Linked DNA regions of Homo sapiens: region 2 is linked to region 1. Evidence: promoter capture Hi-C in 16 types of primary human blood cells and fetal thymus (Javierre and others, 2016). All regions are on one chromosome and are shown on one strand. Each heading gives the region's core, a stretch centred on a gene start or on the middle of the fragment in contact. The rest is flanking DNA. Distances are from core to core; before and after follow the strand shown. Region 1 holds the start of CTDSP2-AS1 (CTDSP2 antisense RNA 1). Region 2 overlaps MIRLET7IHG (MIRLET7I host gene).

Region 1 (2,700 bases), core at 36-2,535:
GTGAGGAGTATGCCCCCACTGAGGATCATCAGGGCTGGGGTCCAGGCTCTGCCAGTTACTGACTCAGCCACACAGCCTTTTGGAGCCTTAGTTTCCTCATCCATAAACTGGGATAACAGCAAGCCCTCACTCAGGACTGAAAGGATAAACGAAGTTAGAGAGTAAGGCACTGTGCTAACTCTAAAGCTAAATGCTGCGCTTGTTTTAATTAATTATCCAAGGGGAGATGACCACTAAATGGCAACATCATGGGCCTCATTCCAGGAGGCCAGCAACAGACCAGGAGCCCTCCCACCATCATCACGTGGATGAAGCCCAAGAAGATGAGGGAAAGGTGCCTGAGAGCTCTGATCATGAGCAGGTTTCAGAAAGTCAAAATAGCCCCTATACCTTCTCCCAAGTCCACAACAAAATTTGTTTTCCAGCTCACAAACTCCCTGACTGGGTATTCTGTGAAAAACAAAAGCAAGTAAGACTGTTTCACTTGAGACAAAAATCGCTGTCTCCCCTGGTATTCATCCCCACTACTCTCAAGAAGTACCAGGTAAGGACACTATTTGCCCCTATGCATGGGCCGGGGTAGGTGGCTCAAGCCTGTAATCCCAGCACTTTGGGAAGCTGGGCCGGTTGGATCACTGCAGCTCAGGAGTTCAAGACCAGCCTGAGCAACATGGCAAAATCCTGTTCTACCAAAAAAAAATTAGCCAGGTGCACCTGCAGTCCCAGCTTGGCAGGCTGAAGTGGGAGAATCACCGGAGCCCAGGAGTTTGAGGCTGCGGTAAGCCGTGATTGCACCACTGCACTCCAGCCTGGGTGACAGAGTGAGATTTTGTCTTTAAAAAAAAAAAGTGTACATGTACAAACACGTGAACACGTGCACACATACACACAAACGAAGACCAGAGTGACCAGGGCAACACTGTTTTTAATCTTCTCCTGAAAGTCAGGTCCAGATACCACTTTTGTCAACAACACAGCTTTGTGTCCCAGCAAAGGAACTCCTCACACATCTGCCTGCGATTCAGCAGAAGGTAACCTCTGAGACAATCAGATTTTAACAAGCCCATTCAGGTAGAAAGTTGCTTTCTTTTTTGGTTCATCCCCAGAAGTACTTCCTTCCCCACCACCTCCCATCCCCCACAGCAAAGGACTTAGCCTTAGCCTGGCTATCACTATAAAATGGCCCCTCTGAGGGGCCTCCTTCCTCTCAGCTATTGGAGGAAGGAGAGTATTTGGAGCATTTCCGGCCCTTCTTGGACGGCTGCCTGAACCCTGCAGCCAAGACACATTTGACTGGGACTCCCCCATGGAGAGAAGTCCTCCCAGGTCCTCTGCAAGGGGCATCTGTTCCTTGGCTATGGACATGCCCTAAAGTGCCAGGTGGACGGAAGAGCTCCTGGGACCAGCAGGTGAGTCGGCAGGGAACAAAAGAGGGTGAGATGCCTAGACAGCCCCCACACACAAAAGACTGCAAACAATGGGGAGGGTGTACTGCTTTCATGCCTGGCCACTGACACTGTTCTCTACAGCTAACAAGCAAGGCAGGGCCGGACCCAGCTTAGCACCGGCTCCCGAAGTTCCAAAAAGTAGCTGTGTATCTAACTGCATGGGCATTTTTTGAAAAAAGCAGTTTTAACACTTTGGGGGGCAAAGGCAGTGGGGATCACTTAAGGTCAGAAGTTCGAGACCAGCATGACCAATATGGTGAAACCCCATCTTTACTAAAAATGCAAAAATTAGCAGGGTATGGTAGTGAGCTCCTGTAATCCCAGCTACTCCGGAGGCTGAGGCACGAGAATCACTTGAATCCAAGAGGTGGAGGTTGCAGTGAGCCGAGATCACACCATTGCACTCCAGCCTGGGGGACAGAGCAAAACTCTGTCTCAAAATAAATAAATAAATAAATAAAATTTAAAAAATTAAAAAGCAGTTTTAGCCATGCTGTTTGGCCCATACCAGCATGTTGTATGCTGGTGCCCTCTCTGCACCAGCAACTGGGGCAGCTCTACCTAAGCCAGTGTCTCCATTAGTTCCCTTTCCCTGGGCAGGAGAGCTCCCTATATGGCTGTCTCTTCTTTCAGACCTGAGTCCTTAATGCCACCTGTGGGGCGAGGGTCACAGGTCACACACTTTCTTGTCTCTGCCCCTTCAGCAATCTGTTCTCTGACCTCAGCTAGAGAGGTAAGAGGACTCAGTTTTGGGAGCAGGGGATTTCTGGCAGTTCTAAAGCACGCTGATTTCAGAATCAGCCTCTAAAGGAGGTATTGCCAAAACACCCTCCTGGGCAGCTCCAACGTACTTTAAAAACGTGCTGGGTTGGGGTGGGCCTCCATAAGTAGCAGATCCTGGACCAGAGACAGAGGAGGCGTTTCCTCATAGACAAGTCAGCTGCAGGCTCAGCCCTGCAAGCCCCACTCCAGAGGACTCTTGAGGGATGTCAGGAAGTGATCTAATAGCCCACAGGGCAGCAGGGACAAGCCTGAGATGCCATCCAAGAAAACTCAAAGGACTGGATCCTGCCCCTGCCTCAGCAGGAGACCCTGCCCTATGTAGCACCAGCCAGAGCAAAGGTATCATTGTGAGGGATTGGAAACCACACTTGCCTACCTGGAGTTACCCCTCCTTCCCCCTAAGGAGGTGTATAACAAGCCCCTGTGGGAGGGGCTACACACAGACAACCTCTCAGTGAGTGTTTCAAGT
Region 2 (2,700 bases), core at 199-2,698, 4.8 Mb after region 1:
CTCTACACACCAACTGAAAATTACCAACTGAACATTTTCCTTGTTGACAGTTTCCCACAAGATGAATTTGATTTATCAAAAATACAGCTTTCTGAACTTAGTATTATTGACATTTACTTGGTGCAGTTAACTTTTTTGTTAAAGGTCTGTTGTCAAGCATTTAAGTAATTTGTAGTTGTAAAAAGCCACTGGTGGAAAGTAATAAGGCAGTATTTTGAGTGCCCTTCTCAATAAGTACATACTAAACCAAAGGAAAGCTGGGTTATGGTAATAACATTTTAATAAATGTCATCCTCAATTGGAAATGGAGACTGTGTTATGGTATATAGGACACACCATATGGAGAAGATTCTTGGAGAACACAGTTTTGCTTCATACTTTAAAATTCCTGATTGCTAATCTTACATAGAAAAGCTTTGTTTACAAGCTATTTTAAAATAACCTTTTGGCAGGTAGGCAAGACTGACTGGCAAGGGTGCACTCAAGACATTGTGTCTTGTGGAGTGGTCCCCAAAGAATTCCTGACAGAGGCACCTGACAGCACAAATTAGCTCTTCAGTGTATAAGCACAAAGCACCAAAAAGGCTGAGATTTCTTCCTAGCTACATGCTCTCTCCCGCTATTGTTTATTACACTCCACCCGCTCCATGGTGAAGCTGACAAAGGAGATACTATTAATTTCCTTTCCCACTGAATAATCCCCTCTGTAATTTCTACAACAAAAGGTAAATAGGACAATCATCTTCGAAAATGAATTAGGCCAGATTGGTAGTACCCAAAAGGAGAATTAATGACCATTGTCATAAACTCTGAAAAGCTGTTGGCGCTACTGATAATCTAGATAATTAAGCAAAAATTTGAAAATTATTTCTAAGATTGTCTAATGAAGTTCACTAAGTGTTTTTGTTAGGTTATCACTATTGGGCACCATGGGGAAAGCAAAATAATTGTATAGCTAGGTCATTGCCCCAAAGGAAAACAGGAAAGATGTCACATGAAGTGTTTAAGAATCAAAATGTAATTAGCTGAGTGTGGTGGTGCCTGCCTGTAGTCCCCGCTGAGGTGGGAGGATCTCATGAGCCCAGGACTTTGAGGCTGCAGTGAGCCATGATTGCACCACTGCAGCCTGGGCAACAGAGTGAGACTGTCAAAAAAAAAAAAAAATCAATGTGAGCTCAGTGCAGTGATGTGCACCTATAATCCCAGGTACTCTGGAGGCTGAGGCAGGAGAGTCACTGGAGCCCAGTAGTTTGAGACCTGCCTGGACAAAATAGTTGAGATTCTGTCTCAAGAAATTAAATAAATAATCAAAATGTGGGCAGGTGAGAAAAACATTAGTGACCTACTTCACTTTTGAGACCTGGCAGAAAAGTGATTGAATGAGCTAAGGGGGAAGGGAAGTATGGAACACTTCAAATAGTATAGTAATTTAGGGAGTTCTTTTGGTTAGGTTTGTTGCCTGAGATCTTGGAGATGACAATCGCAGTGATAATGATACTCTAGGTGATTTACAGTTTAGTTTCATATTATCTGCTACAAATACGCTGGGAGTGTCATCAGAATTAAAAGAAATATTAGCAGTTCTACATGGAATTTATGTGTTTTCTTATCTCAAGTTGAAAATTTTTTTTTTGGTTAAATTTGTTTTACATTTACCTTTCTTTAAAAGTGCTGTTTTGTTCAGATGTAATGGAATTGTGCCTACACAGGATTTTTGGCCACTAAATTTGTGAATAGGGTCCTTTAAAGGCATACTATTGACACCCGATAGTGTAACTTTAGTCTTTTAGTTATATCAAATATGAACAAACCTAAGACACAATCTTGTGTTTTTAAGGATAAGTTCCTAGTTCTTTCCTCTTATTCAACATCAAACAACACTTACAGAAAATATTATTTTCTTCGAATCAGGTTTACAAATTCCGTTAGTTCCATTATAATATAATTGAGAGTATTTTATCATGGAAGTCAGGAGTTCGCAGAAAGCCAAGCTGTGTGATATGTCACAGAAAATTCAAGTAAATTAAGGACTAAAAACTGTCCACAGACATTGACAGTTTAGATCATATATGTAGTTGTAATGTGTTTTCTGTTATACCTGAAAAATCCCTTAACTGCTCTTAGGTTGAGTAATAAACAATTAACGGGTGTTTTATCTCACTTTGAACATAACTACCAAAAAGGTATTAAGATTCAGAGATTGCTGTTTTAATATTCTGCACATAGTGTATTTTAAAGCCCTTGTTAAACAGAAGTATTATGTAGATACAGGCATGGGCTAGTTTTAGTCATAATAGTAACACTGACTTAATGTTACCGTAATAGATGGCCGAAAGAGTTGACTAAACTCTAAAAACAGATACATAAGCAAATTAAAGTATATTTTTCTGTTTTAAAAACAAATTTACATACTTTTTAAGAGTTCGGACGAAAAACCTAAGAATAAGAATCCTATCTGCCATTCATTTCTTTTTGTAGTGAATGAAGCTTATACAGAATAAATAAGTTCCAGATAAATTCAACAGGTGAATCGGATACCTGCTCTATGTCAGGTGCTGGGAATATACAGAAGATAAAACAAAAACAAACACAAAAAAACCAACTCCACATTATGGAATTCACATTGTAAAAGGAATACATTTCCCTATAATAATAATTACAGACATGTAGTGAGGACAATCCATGGGCCACCTGAGTTGT

The links. The method cuts DNA at HindIII sites, captures the fragments that hold promoters and counts their contacts. A CHiCAGO score of 5 or more calls a contact.
Region 2: a contact is called between a fragment that was not itself captured here and the fragment with the promoter of CTDSP2-AS1 in region 1, in 1 of 17 cell types (M2 macrophages). The highest score is 7.6, in M2 macrophages.

What each region holds. Positions count from the first base shown.
Region 1 is chr12:57,835,806-57,838,505 of GRCh38, forward strand. CTDSP2-AS1 (CTDSP2 antisense RNA 1) reads left to right here and starts at 1,286. Exons shown (of 2, transcript NR_188077.1): 1 at 1,286-1,409. The region is part of intron 1 of CTDSP2 (CTD small phosphatase 2); the gene reads right to left. RefSeq lists enhancers at 1,516-1,585, 2,175-2,700, 2,376-2,485, 2,546-2,625. The HindIII fragment of the contact is 9,495 bases long and covers 1-2,700 here.
Region 2 is chr12:62,605,666-62,608,365 of GRCh38, forward strand. All of the region lies in intron 1 of MIRLET7IHG (MIRLET7I host gene), which reads left to right. Among named protein-coding and RNA genes, the nearest start is that of MIRLET7I, 3.3 kb to the left of the region's middle. The HindIII fragment of the contact is 2,073 bases long and covers 413-2,485 here.